Linked DNA regions of Homo sapiens: all the other regions are linked to region 1. The links are contacts of gene promoters, found by promoter capture Hi-C in human tissues and cell types (Jung and others, 2019). All regions are on one chromosome and are shown on one strand. Each heading gives the region's core, a stretch centred on a gene start or on the middle of the fragment in contact. The rest is flanking DNA. Distances are from core to core; before and after follow the strand shown. Region 1 holds the start of OTUD7A (OTU deubiquitinase 7A). Region 2 overlaps OTUD7A (OTU deubiquitinase 7A). Region 3 overlaps OTUD7A (OTU deubiquitinase 7A). Region 4 overlaps OTUD7A (OTU deubiquitinase 7A).

Region 1 (3,375 bases), core at 291-2,790:
TATATGCCTACTAGAATGTCTAAAATTATAGATGATAGACGGATGGATGGATGGATGGACAGATAGATAGATAAAGATAGCCAATATCAAGTGCTGGTGAGGATGAAGGAAAGGGATTCATATTTGCTGACAGTTATAAAAATGCTATAGCCACTCTAGAAAACTGTTTGGTTCTTATAAAGTTAAACAAATTTACCATAAGATCTAGCAATTGCACTCCTAGATATTTAGTCAACTAATTTAAAAAATTTGTCCGTACAAAACGCTGCATGCAAATGTTTATAGAATGTTTATTCACAGTCGCCAAAAACTGGAAACCACGCAAATATTCTCCAGTGGGTGACTAAACAAAATGTGGTACAAATAATGAGACTCCCCTCAACAATAAAAAGGACTATTACTATACACAATAACATGGATGAATCTCCAAGGTATAATGATGAGGGAATAAAGTCAGTTTCAAAATGTTACATATTGCGTAATTCCATGTATACGACACACTCACAAAGACAAAACCGTAGCAATGGAGAACCTATCAGTGGTTACCAAAAGTTAGGGTTGGCGGGGGCGCTGTTATAAAAGGGCAGAACTAGGGAGCTCTTTATTGCGCTAGTGGTTACATGAATCCAAACAAGGGTTCAAGATCACAGGATTATATATCAAATAACCAATTTTACTGAATATCAATTTTAAAAGTCAAATAAATTATTAAACACTATTAAACATATACAATGTTTAAAGTCAAGCAAAAAGTCCTAAACTAAAAGTAAAATAATGATTGTTTAGAAGTACACCAGGATGGTATGGGTCATCTGCAATATAACGTCCTGTTTGGGATAAGGAAGCGTGACTACATCTACAGGGTGACGTGAGAAGGGCCCAGAGCAGCGAGCAGGTCTTGCCATCAGGGAGGGGAACCATCTGAAGGGGTGGCGTGAAAAAGTCTTTAGAGGAAGGCAAAAAATGGGAAAAGGTCAGAGAACCTTTTTGGGAGGTAAAAGGACCAGCTTTGGATTAGGCGTGATGCACAGGCCCCAGCGCAGGGCGTAGAAACTGCAGCCTGGACAGCCTGGGTGGGAGAAAGTTTGGGATGTTTAGGAAGGAAGGGTGCGCCAGCCAGGGGGAAGAAACGAGACAGGTGGCCGCAGATGGCGCGAGTCAGGCAGCAGGAAAAGGCAGGCTGTTTAAGCAGCCTTTTCCTGCAGTCCAGGCGGAGAGCGCAGAAGGAGCACCCCGAGGGGCAAGCATGGGAGAGCCGGAGCGGGCTCGCGGGCGCGCGGGCGCTGTACGTCCCCTCCTCGGCTCGCGGCCGCGAGCACGCGCTCTCCGTGCCCGGCCCCGGAGGGGCGGGGGCGGGGCACAGGCGCGGCGCGCGCACGTCCGCGCGGGGCGGGGGCGGGGCGCGAACGCGACCGGTGACGTCAGAGGAGGGCGCGCGCCCGGAGGCAGCAGGCGGAGCCGGGAGGCGGGCGTTGTGCGCGGCCGCGGGCGGAGCGGAGGGGCGCGAGGGGCGGAGCGGAGCGCGGGAGGAGGCGGGGGAGGAGAGGCCACCGGGACCGCGAGCGGCAGCTGGGGAGGGGGCCGCGGAGCCCGAGCGGGAGCAAAACAGCTGATCTGGTTTTCCTTTAAAGCGAGAGAAAATGGAAGTCGGGTAGCGGCGACTGCGGCGCTGCGGGCTGGCGGAGCGGAGCGGCGCGGCGCGGCAGGTAAGACGGCGCTGGCCGCGGTGCTGCCGGCGGGCGGCGGGGCCGGGCCCGCGGACCAGGCAGGTGCGCTCTCCGGGCGCGGGGCCGGCGCCGTCTCCTTCCCGAGCTCCGTGGCGAGGCAGGTGGGCGTTGAGGCCGGGCGACCGCGGGGCCGGGGCGCGGGGACGCGGGGGGCGCGGGCCCCGGCTGGGCTCGCCGGCGCGTCTGCATTGCGGGCTCCGCTCCGGACCCCGCGGGCTCCCGGGCCACCGGCTCCGGCCCGGCGTGGCGCGCCTCTCTCGGGCAGGGCGCGGCGCTACCGCTGGGTCGGGGCTGCTGCCTCCGCTCAGCCCTTTGGCTGTCCGCACTGGAACGTGATGCCAGGCGTGGGGCGACCGACCCCTCGGTCCGTGCGCGCGCGTCGGGGGTCCCGCGGCTCTTGCAGACGGCCGGGCAGGGCCCGGCCCCGAGCCGCGCGCGAGGCCGCTCGCCGGGCACCGGAGCTGTGACTGCGTGGGTCCCCGCGGCCCGGCGCACCGCCGTCCCGCTCGCTCTGCTGGGTCTCGCTGGACAGCAGGCAAACCATTAAGGCAATTTGGCTGTGAACCCAGAGGCCTTCCCTAGTATCTCCTCACTGGAGGGGAAAAAATTGCATCTGCGGTGCTTTAAGTGCTCCTTTAAATTTGGGAGATGTCAGTGATGTCATCATTAACTAAAACTTTCCTTCATTGGACACAACCGCTCAAGTGTACCCTCCTCCCTCCCGGTGAAGCTATTGCAGCCCTTTGAGAATCTCTGTAATAAAATGGATTTGCCTCTGCTCTGTAAACTCAGCTACCTCACACAAGTGCAAATGACTTTTATTTCTGTCTATTGGCTTGAGAATGTATAGATTTAAGAGTAGCTGAAGGGAAACTTGTGAGACCCCGATCAGGGAAACGCTTCATCCACAGCACAAGGATCCAGGGGAAAGTCATGTATGACATGCACATGGTTACCGCCAGGTGATACCTTTGTAAATGGAAGTGGGCTGTAAGAGGAACAATTTTTAAAAATATGATGAGGCAGATAATGTGTCCAGGAAAAGGTTGACAGCGGGGCCTAAATCTTTACAGGTCTTAATTGCTTCAGGAAAATCTGCAGGTGTCCTTCACCATCCTCCTCCTCCTCCTCCAGGGTGTGCCCGGAGAAGCCTGCCCTGGGCGAAGGCGGGGAGGCAGGTTCACTAGGGTCCTCCCAGCAGCCGTGTGTCCCACCAGCTTCAAAGGCCTCTTCAAGACCCAAAGAGGGTTCACGAGAACAGAGGTAGATCTGCACGGCACACTCAGTTCTGGATAAACATTCCCCACTAAATGGGATCAACACTCCATTATTTTATTGTGAGTGTGCCATTAGTACCAATTCTTATGGGAACAAAACTAAGCAAGTTCCCAAGGCAATCTGAGTATCTACTCAAGCCTATCATATCGAAAGGATATCCAATAAGGGACAAAAGTATTGACATTTTTGTATTTAATAATTAATGACACCTCCTAATTGGTTAAAATAAGCATGCCTTAAATTGTTAGTGTGATTTTATTGGATCTGTAAGGAATTTAATACCATATGCCACTCAAAAGTTGGGACCTGGTTAGGAACTTCAATCTCTTGAACCCTGTATTGGTGTGAAAAGAATGGGAAAACAGTGGTT
Region 2 (3,375 bases), core at 347-2,846, 320 kb after region 1:
GTGGAGGACTTCCTTTTCCCTTGGACAGAACATGAACCCAGGGCTCAGGTGGTTCTGAAAACTGGCAAACAGTGGCCTTCACTCAGTTAACATTGCCCACCATCCAGCTGTCCATCCTGGGGCCTGATTCCACTCTCCTGGGGCCCTGCGTGGTATCTGCCTGGCCTCCCGAGCCACATAGGCAGCCCCGTCTATTTTTGAGGCCTCTGTGTCAAGTGGGGTGCCAGTCTGAACTCCCATAAAACCCACAGATCTGGGAGACTGGTCTTCCCCAAGTCTTCAAACCCTGGAAAACACAACCCACTCCCACCTCATGACAGTCTCAGGGCAACAGAAGGGCCGGATCATCTGGGCCTAAAACCAGCTGACCTCCTGAGAGGAAGGGAAACACCTTTCGTTCTTTAATGACTAGCCTGCCATTGAGAAGGCAAGAAACCACTCCTTTTGCCATCAGCTGATCCTGCTGCATTTACACAGGAGATGGCTCGGAGACCGGGGTCTCTGGGTTGGGAAGTATCATCTGCTGCCTGTGGCAGCAGCTAACCACCATGTGGGTGAGATGGTGTGGTTCTTCAGTGTGTCTGGGGGCAGAGGGCAGAGGCATTTTTGTGTAATGCAGGAGTCACTGCATACATGGGAGATGGAAACGCATGTTGAAAAATCTCTAGGCACACCTTTGAGTTGTGCTCCAGGGGAGGATAATTGGATTGAGGGGAATCTGCCAGAGAATGGTAAGTTACAGAGGAGGCTTGTGGGCTTCTGAGTCAGCCCGACCCTGGCTTGAGGCCCGGATTGGCAGGGGGAGCTTGGCCACGTCACTTGGCCGGCTGGAGCCTCACTTCCTTCCCTCTGAAAGTCAGAGATGTGTAACGGCGGCCAAATGGAGACAGATTGACCCAGTGTCAGCCTGTGTTGAATGCCCACGAAATGCCCCATCCAGGTCTGGGGCTACCTCCACACTCCAGGCAGATGAAACCCCTGCCCTCAGGGAGGTGAAATTCCAGTGGAAGAAAGCCGATGAACAAGGGGAGCATGAAAATGAAGTGGGGCCTCAGAGGCTACTCTGGGGAGGTTAGGAAGGAGAGGGAATCCCGGGATGCCGCTGGAGGGCAGGGAGGGAGGCAGCAACAGACACCTGCGGGCCTGGCTTTCCTGGCAGAGGGAGTCTAACATCAAAGTCTTGGCATATTTAAGGAAGCCAGTGTCACCTGAGCTGGTGGAGCGAGGGTGAGAGGATTTGGAAAGGAGGGCAGGAGAATGGGAGCCGGGCGCTAGGGAGCCTCGTCCTTTAGGCTTCACTGAAGGTAGATAAGCAGCCCCTGGAGGGTTTTGAGCCGGGGGCTGACGCGTCTTGATTCACATCTGACAGATTCTGGCTGCTGGAGAATGGACTATGGGGTGGTAAGAGAAGAAGCTGGAAGAGCAGGGAGAGGCAGTTGCTCCAGACCAGGGCAGAGAGAGACGGCTGGCAGGGTCGTGGGGGTGGTAGTGCAGGTGAGGGGCAGTAGAGAGACACGGCTATGGGGTACGTTTTGAAGGCAGACCTACAGGCCTTGATGATGGAGGGCTGGGGCTCTGGCAGGCAGGGAAGAGTCCAGCATGGCCCTAAGAATGTTACCCTGAATATGGGGGTAGATAATGTTGCCTGAGGAGATGCAGACCCCTGGAGGAAGGGCAAGAAGAAGAGGCCAGCACTGTCAGGCAAAGCCCGAGACTGTAGTGAGACTTGTAAAGTTGCTGCCCAGATGAACATGAGGGTCTGGAGTCAGAGAGAGCCCTGCGTTGGGGATGCAGATGTGGAGTTAGTGCCCTAAAGTGAAACCCGTGGGATCCCGGAGTGAGCTCCTCGTAGGACCCTCCCACCATGCCCCCAACCTGGCTCCATGCAGTGGTGAGCATGAGTTGGACACACTTGTCTGGAGCATGGACAGAAAACAAGCTTTCCAAAGACTCAGGCTGGGGCCCTACAGTATTGAGGGCTGAGGAACAGAAGAAGGAGCCAGCAGAAGAGACTGGGAATGTGCGGGCCTGGGAATCAGGGCGAACCAGCGGTGGATAGTGACCCTGACGCCCAGGGTGGAAGGTGTTTCAAGAAGGGAGCAATCAGTGGTGCCAAATATGCCAGTAAGTCAGTGTGCACTAGAAACTGACCGCTGGGTTTGACTGTGAGGGCAAGGTTCTCGGGAAGCCATGCTGCACTGTGCTTGATACAGAGAAAGGTCAGGAAGTGGCTTCCATTCCCCTTCTCCTTATAGCTCTCACCATCGGCTGCTGTGAGTCATCTCTTTCCTCCAGCTACTTTTACACTCCCTTGCCTTCCATCTCGTGAGGCTTCCATTGGCCTCCTAGCTACCTGGGACCATTCCTTGCTTCCAAAGGCAGCTCCTCCCATGGCCAGTTGCCAAGTTTGCCTTCCCATCCTTGCTGTGCTTTGGAGCTTCCTCCACCCATCAGTCAGGCAGAGTCGCGGCTGCGACTCTGGGCAAGCCTGGAAATACCACGTTCCTTTGTGGGCCAGGTGCAGCGTTGGGCAACCCTGGGCATAGGGCCTGGGCCAGAGTGTGGGAGAGACAGAGGCCAGGGTTCACATCTCCTCAGCGTAGTGGTCACAGTGTGGTTCCTGTGCAGCCCCCTGAGGGGGCGTCAGGCTCTCCTCTGTGACGTCGTGATGAAGCAGCCCACCTTGTGGGGCTGTTGTGAAGATGAACTGAGGTCGTGTGTGCACAGGGCTGGATGCATACTCAGCATCAAGTAAATGGCCTCCTCTACTAATTTTTTATTTTCATAGAGTGGTATTTCCTATTTTTCTTTCTTCACACTTTTTGCTATAAAGAATTTAAATTGTGACCAAATACTAAGTTATCTTCTCCAGCATTACAATTATTCATTAGTAAACATTGAGCACCTGTGGTGTCTCAAATCCTATTGTCATAGCCCATTTGCATTGCTTTAAAGGGATACCTGAGACCAGGTAATTTATAAAGAAAAGAGGCTTATTTGGCTCACAGTTCTGCAGGCTGTACAAGAAGCATGGGGCCAGCATCTGCTTCTGGTGAAGGCTTCAGGAAGCTTCCAGTCCTGGCAGAAGGGGAAGGGGAAGCAGATGTATCATATGATGTGAAGGGGAGCAAGAGAGGAGGTGCCAGACTCTTTTTAACAATCATCTCATGGGAACCAATAGAACAAGAACTCACTCATTACTGCGAGGATGGCACCCTGCCATTCATGACGAATCCACCCCCATGACCCAAACACCTCCCACCAGGCCCCCCTCAACATTGGGGATCACATTTCAACATAGATTTGGAGGGGACAAACATCTCAAACTATATCAACTACCAGGATTATTGGGGACAACCAAGATGAGGAACACAA
Region 3 (3,375 bases), core at 254-2,753, 300 kb after region 1:
GAGTGTCCCAGGGTGCAGAAGAGGAAGTGTGAAAATATCCATGTTAGAATTAGGCTTCTACTGCCCTCCCATGGACTTTATGGCCTCAGTGTGTTTGGGAGATGGCATTAGTAACAGTTGAATGAGAAACTCACGGAGTATAGATAAGTCCGTGTATTTGAATCTCAGCTCCGTTGCTTACTAGCTGGCTTTTAACTCTGAGTGCTGGAAGTTAAACATAAAACAGAAACCTATAATTAATGAGAATAATGGTAACTACCATGTATTAGTGCTTTCCATAAAGGAAGAACTTTACAAACACTATCTCCTTTTCTCATTTAACCCTCATAAGAATTCTCATTAGATGGATTGTGTTATCCTAATTGTACAGGAAGGAATGCAAGGCCTTGGGTGATGAAATGATATATTCACCATCAGAGAATTAGTTAGAAGGTGGAACCAGGGCTCAAAACCAGGCCCTAGAACCTGTGTTCTTGACTGTTCTTCTGGGTTGCATTCCTTCATCAGGGACATGTAGCCTGTGGCTGCCCCAGTCTTCCAGCCTCAGGTTTCACCATGGGCCTCTGCGCCTTTCCTTCTCATCCTTACTTGATGTGACATCTGTTGGGGTTCCCAGTAACTTAAAATGGAAAAGATGAGAAGAGAGCTTATTTTTATTTGCTCCTTAAAATTAAGGCTAAGTTTTTAATTCTTTGATTTCTTTTTAAAATTTTTTAATTTTTAATTGTTATGGATACATAATAGTTGTATGTATTGATATATACATACATCAATATGTATATTGATGGGGCAGATGTGATATTTTGATACCAGCCTACAATGTATAATGATCAAATCTGGCTAATTGGGATATCCATCACCTCAAACATGCATCATTTCTTTTGTGTTGGGAACATTCCAAATCTACATTTCTAGTTATTTTGAAATATACATTAAGTTATTGTTAACTATAGTTGCCCAATCGTGCTATAGGATGATGCCTAACTGAATCGGGTGTAGTGTGTGATACTCCTTCCTGCCGTTACAAGCCCACTGACTCTCAGAGTCGGGAATCAGAGTGCCCACGCTGCCTCCAACTCCCCAGTGTAGCTGTGCCTAGTGCTGCGAAGTGCCAGTCCAGCACCCCGTGTCGGGGTGGGAGCCCTGCTGAGTGCGTACCCACGCTGGGCACACCTGCCCAGCCTGGCATCACACCTGGTGCAGGGCCTGAGCTCAGAAGCCTATCTCCCACCAAAGCTCACTAACAAGAGAATCCCTCCCAAGCTTCTGCTTCGCTCATATTAAGCTTAAAATAAAAAGTAAAACTCTGAGCAAAAGCCCAAAGAAACTTTGAGAATTATTTCAATTCATTTTTCTTTAATTGATGCTTTGTTCCCCTCAGAGAGTAAGCTCTACAACTTGATTTTCAAAGGGGGATGTGATGATCAGGGATGCAGTGTTTAGATGTGTGTGTGTGTGTGTGTGTGTGTGTGTGTGTGTGTGTGTGTGTATGAACCTAAAGGCTCTGAGACTGTATATAGTCACATATTTTAGATGGACGTCACTTATGGGTGTGAAATTCTGCTTTTAGAGTCATGCAGAGGGCCATTTTTCCCCTTTGAAAAACAAGAACTACTGGTAAAAATTCATTAGTTTATGTCCTAATGGGAAACCCTTCTTGTCACAGTTCTTCTCTATGATGAGACCGTTATTCATGCGTTCGTATTGTCACCTCTTGTCATTTCTTGTCCACAGGCAAAAACTGGGACCTGACAGCCGCTCTGAGCGACTATGAGCAGCTCCGCCAGGTGCACACAGCCAATCTGCCACATGTGTTCAATGAAGGGCGGGGTCCCAAGCAGCCAGAGCGAGAGCCACAGCCCGGGCACAAGGTGGAGCGACCCTGCCTGCAGAGGCAGGACGACATTGCCCAAGGTACCGCTGAGGGACTGAGCCTAGGCACAGCCGCCCAGGCCAGTGCACCGCAGCTTGCAGGCGGGTTGCGTGGTACAAAGAATGGTGGGGTCATCACCTCCCGGATGCAGACATATTGGCCTCTCAGTGCCTTCTTTCTCACACTATGCCGAAATGTCCTTTGTTGCTTCTATCCATGGTTCCAACCTCTACCTCAGAAAAGCAGAAAAATGAGTCTGATTTCCTAGGACCCCAAAAGCCCAATAAGTGAGTAAAAGCCAGCATTCCTCCTGGAGTCTTGGTTTTTTCAGACCAAACATCTCTAGTTCTTTCACATATTTCCAAAGTAACACAGTCTCCAAGTCTGTTCAGCATCACATTTCTTGTCCCATGCGCTCCATCTTCTCTATCCTTTTTCTTCATTATGAAAGTAAGATATGCTTATTATAACAAAGGAAACAATACAGAGATATATGAGGAAAACTTAAGAGCATTCGCCTCCACACCTCCCAGATCTCACCAGTGTAATGACGGCTGATAACATTCTGGTGGTCTCCTCCTGCTCCTCTTGCTATATTGTTCAAAATCAAACACATCAGAGTCAAATGCACAGCACACTGCAAAGTGCTTGTTTCACTGAGCAGGAGATGATGAACATAATCTCTCAATAGCTACATTTTATTCTATAATGTGTTAATTTTTAGATCACTGCTGTATTCATGGTGATTCTGTTTTTGCTTGGGTTTTTGTCGTTGTTATTATTTGTTAATTGCCACTGAAAGCAATGCTGAAAGAAACATCTTTATACCTCTAATCTTACATACTGGTGCTTTTGTTTCTATGGGTTTGCATTCCCAGAATGGATTTGCTGTGCCAACACATGTGTGTTTCTAGCTTAATAATTTTAGGGCTTCTTTCCTAATATATTGCTACTCACCATGTGTGAAACCGGGTGTTTCCCTTCAATCTTGCCAGCACTGGAAATTACAATGTATGGTGTGCTGGGCCATTCTTTCACTGCTGTAAAGAAATACCTAAGGTTGGGTAATTTATTTTAAAAAGAGGATTTCTTGGCTCGTGGTTCTGCAGGCTTTACAGGAAGTATGGTGCTGGCATCTGCTCAGCTTCTGGGGAGGCCTCAGGAAGCTTACAATCATGCAGAAGGCAAAGGGGGAACAGGCACTTCACATGGCCAGGGTAGGAGCAGGAGAGAGTGAGTTGGAAGGCAGAGGTGCTGCATACTTTTAAATGATCAGATCTCATGTGAACTCAGAATGAGAGCTCACTTATCACCAAGGGGTTGGCCCGAGCCATTCATGAGGGATCTGCCCCCGTGATCCAAACACCTCCCACTAGGCCTTACCTCCAAGATGGCGGATTGCATTTCAATATGAGATTTGGGTGGTGACAAATATCCAAACTATATCAATCCACTCCTGGGCCCTCCCAAATCTCATGTCCTTCTCATTGCAAAATACAATC
Region 4 (3,375 bases), core at 381-2,880, 280 kb after region 1:
AAGCTTTGGCCTTCAAATAAATGGAGCCAGACTGCATGAATATTTAGGAACTTTCTCCTTTCCTACAACAAGATATTCCTGAGACTCCTCTGTATTGTTGTATGGAATTAAATTGCTTTTTCATTGCCACATAGCATTCCATTGTTTGAATAAACCAAATGTATTTGTTCATTCTACTTTTGATGAACATTTGACTTGTTTCTCTTTTGTGCTGTTATGAACAGGGCTGCTGTATGCATCTTTAGTGGCTCTATGTGCATATGGCAGATGTACGGGCATTTCTGTAGGGATTATACCAACAAGTGGGATTGCTGGATGCCAGGACACAGGGTATTTTAGATAAAAAGGTCAGGGAGAGCCTTTCTGATGAGGTGATAGCTCAGGAGAGACCACAATGAAGTGAGGGAGAAAGAGTGCAGATATTTTGAGAATGCATAATCCAAGCAGAAGGAACAGTGAGCGTTAGGGCCCTATGGCAGAAAGCCCTGGCCCAGGTCAGAGTGGCTGGAGCCCAAAGAGGGACAGCAGGCGAAGTCACTTGGTGCCCGGGGCCAGATTGCCAAGGGCCTGGAGGCCATGGGGAAGACTCCGAAGTTATTTGGAAAGTGATTGAAAGTCCCTGGGGTTTCAAAGGAGAGGAACATGATAAGATTTACATTTTCTTTTTTTTTTTTTTTGAAATGGAGTCTCAGTCTGTTTCCCAGGCTGGAGTGCAGTGGCACAATCTCAGCTCACTGCAACCTCTCCCCCTGGGTTCAAGCAATTCTCCTGCCTCAGCCTCCCGAGTAGCTGGGATTACAGACGCCTGCCACCACACCTGGCTAATTTTTGTATTTTTTTTTTAGTAGAGACGGGGTTTCACCATCTTGGCCAGGCTGGTCTTGAACTCCTGACCTCGTGATCCACCTGCCTCAGCCTCCCAGAGTGCTGGGATTACAGGCGTGAGCCACCGCGCCCGGCCAAGATTTACATTTTCAAAGGGCCACTCTGGCTGTCCTGTGGAGAACAGGTGACAGGGCACACTGGGGTGGAAGTAAGGAGAGGAACCAGAAGCCTCTGGCAATAATCCAAGCAAGAGATGCAGCCAACCTAGGGTGGCAATGGTAGAGATTTTGATTATGATTAGATCAAGAATGCATATTTTAAGGTGAAGCTGCAAGGACTTGCTGATGTCGGGTGTGAGGGTAAGAACAGAGTCAAGCATGATGCATGGATCTTTGGCTTAGGCTGTGTTAGGCTTGGGATGCTCTTAGATAGCCGAGCAGAGGTGTTGAGTCAGGAGCTGGATGTGTGAGTCAAGAGTTAGCCTGAGGACAAAACTCCAGGAGTCATCAGTATTTAGATGGCACTCACAGCGAGCAGCCCTGGCGGGCAATGTGGGTGGAGAAGAGCAGTGGTCCTGGGGCTGGAGCCCTTCAGCAAGCAGAGGCCAGGAGGAGGAGGAGGACCCAGCAGGGGAGACCCAGCTGAGCAGTAGTGGAGAGGGGGCAAGCCAAGGGAATGTGGCATCCCAGATGCCAAGAAGAACATGGCTAAGGGAGTGGCTAGCTCTCAGTGTTCCTGGGGTTGGCAAAGTGCAGGCCATCAGTGCTAGGGACATGGGTGGTGTAAGGGGAGTGGTGGGAGTCGGGGAATGAGAGGAAAATGAGGAGAGTGGGCCAATCGTGTTGTTTTTAACTTTCAGACTCTTCAGACTTACACTGCCCCTTAGAGATGAATCTCAACCATCTCTCCTTAACATTGCCAAAACTGGGACTCAAAGAGGAGGCAGAAGTTGCCCAAAGTCACAAGGCAAGCTCACAGCAGGGCTGTGGCCAAAATCTGGCCCCTGACACTCCCCGCTCTTCTGACTCCCACCCCTGAGTGAATGCCTGTGGTACCCACAGCCCTGGGGGGCTGCTGTGCAGAAAACCCTACCCTCAGTCCTTCTAGGACTTGCTATCTAACACACCATAGCCATGTTGTAAATTGATAGGTATGTGAGCTATTCACACTGTATGTATGGAATTTAGACTTTCATTTAAATTCAGGGTAAATTCATTTAAAGAAATTGACTATAAAAGCTGAGGCTAAGCCTCCCACCCACCACATCTGCGCTGTCTGCAGAGTCTTTATGTTCTGCCTGCATTTCCCTTCTTTGGTCATTCTATCCTGGAGGAAAGAAACCAGATAAATGGATTCACTCCTAGAGTAATAGGAAGGGTTAATAGTAATCGTAACTGGCAGGAGCCTTTCTCCATAGGGTGAACCAGCGTAGCCTCACCTTCAGAATTCCTGCTGAGGGACCATCCTGACCCTACCTGCCTTTCTTCTATTTTAATGTATACATTTATATTCACATGCATATGTCATTTTGCATGAATGGTATCATAACATATATATCATTTGTTTCTAGAAAAAGTCTTCTTTGTTGCTTGGCTCATCCCAATCCCTCCTTCCTCTCTCTATTGATGTCATTACAACTCCCGGAAACCCATGTGAGCAAGCTAGTATGTGTTCTTCCATATTTTTCTCCAAGCTCAAATAGTGGTCTGTAGACACCTATGTACATATACATCTTTATGTATACACATATATGTATACACATATGAATACAGCCGGGGCTCTTTCTGGAGCACATAAGAATCTGGAGGTTGCAAGTGAGAAGGATTTTCAGACCACCACTTAGAGGCTTGCACCCCAGCTGGAAGGGTAGAGGAGTGAAGGGCAGGGAAGCCGCAGATAGAAACACATAACTCAAAGGTCAAGCTCTCAACCCTGGGGATGCCGGGTGGGGACGCACTGTGCTGTCACAGCCTACTGCCCCAGAGCACCGAAGCAGCTCACCTGTAGGTATTCTCCTGGGTGCAGCATGACTCACAGGCAGAGCCACTGTCACCATCTGGGCTGCTGAGGATGAGATTCCCCAGAGCTGGGCCAGAAGCTGTCTGTTTCTGCTCGCAGCTAACCTCAGTATTCGAAGACTTCTCCTGCTGCCTTCCACGCCTCGCATGAATGTTTGTCATTTGAGAACCTAGAGCTTGTCTGGAAAGCAGTTCTGGGAAGTGCCATTCCAGGCTGTTCCCAAATTACGCAGAGGAGAATGAAGGGAGGGGAAAGGTTGAGCACAGGCTCTCCAGCACCATCCACCCCTTTTGTCAAATCCTCACCCATCCATATCCTTTGGCCCATATCTAACCAGCAAGCAACAGCAGTAACATCGTGCCCTGCTAATTTTACTCTTCTTCATTCCACTGGAAATGTGCATGCATCTCACCAACAAAGGGAGGCGCAATGTCCTCCAAGTCACCAAACCCATCTTGAGTTTTGTTCATTTGCCATCTAGCTCACTCACAACCCATTTGTGATAAACTATACCTTAAAGACTGAATTAAG

The links. The method cuts DNA at HindIII sites, captures the fragments that hold promoters and counts their contacts. A contact is called where the count stands out against the background at its distance.
Region 2: a fragment that was not itself captured here is called in contact with the fragment with the promoter of OTUD7A in region 1 in 3 of the 25 tissues and cell types used here (IMR-90 fibroblasts, dorsolateral prefrontal cortex and lymphoblastoid cells).
Region 3: a fragment that was not itself captured here is called in contact with the fragment with the promoter of OTUD7A in region 1 in 4 of the 25 tissues and cell types used here (H1 embryonic stem cells, IMR-90 fibroblasts, dorsolateral prefrontal cortex and 1 more).
Region 4: a fragment that was not itself captured here is called in contact with the fragment with the promoter of OTUD7A in region 1 in 2 of the 25 tissues and cell types used here (IMR-90 fibroblasts and dorsolateral prefrontal cortex).

The regions. Positions count from the first base shown.
Region 1 is chr15:31,868,838-31,872,212 of GRCh38, reverse strand. It overlaps OTUD7A (OTU deubiquitinase 7A), which reads left to right and starts at 1,540. Exons shown (of 13, transcript NM_001382637.1): 1 at 1,540-1,706. RefSeq lists a silencer at 1,508-1,577. The HindIII fragment of the contact is 13,679 bases long and covers 1-3,375 here.
Region 2 is chr15:31,551,882-31,555,256 of GRCh38, reverse strand. The region is part of intron 5 of OTUD7A (OTU deubiquitinase 7A); the gene reads left to right. Among named protein-coding and RNA genes, the nearest start is that of KLF13, 230 kb to the right of the region's middle. RefSeq lists an enhancer at 366-949. The HindIII fragment of the contact is 6,972 bases long and covers 1-3,375 here.
Region 3 is chr15:31,568,557-31,571,931 of GRCh38, reverse strand. OTUD7A (OTU deubiquitinase 7A) reads left to right here. Exons shown (of 13, transcript NM_001382637.1): 4 at 1,735-1,914. Among named protein-coding and RNA genes, the nearest start is that of KLF13, 240 kb to the right of the region's middle. The HindIII fragment of the contact is 6,458 bases long and covers 1-3,375 here.
Region 4 is chr15:31,584,942-31,588,316 of GRCh38, reverse strand. The region is part of intron 3 of OTUD7A (OTU deubiquitinase 7A); the gene reads left to right. Among named protein-coding and RNA genes, the nearest start is that of KLF13, 260 kb to the right of the region's middle. The HindIII fragment of the contact is 6,043 bases long and covers 1-3,375 here.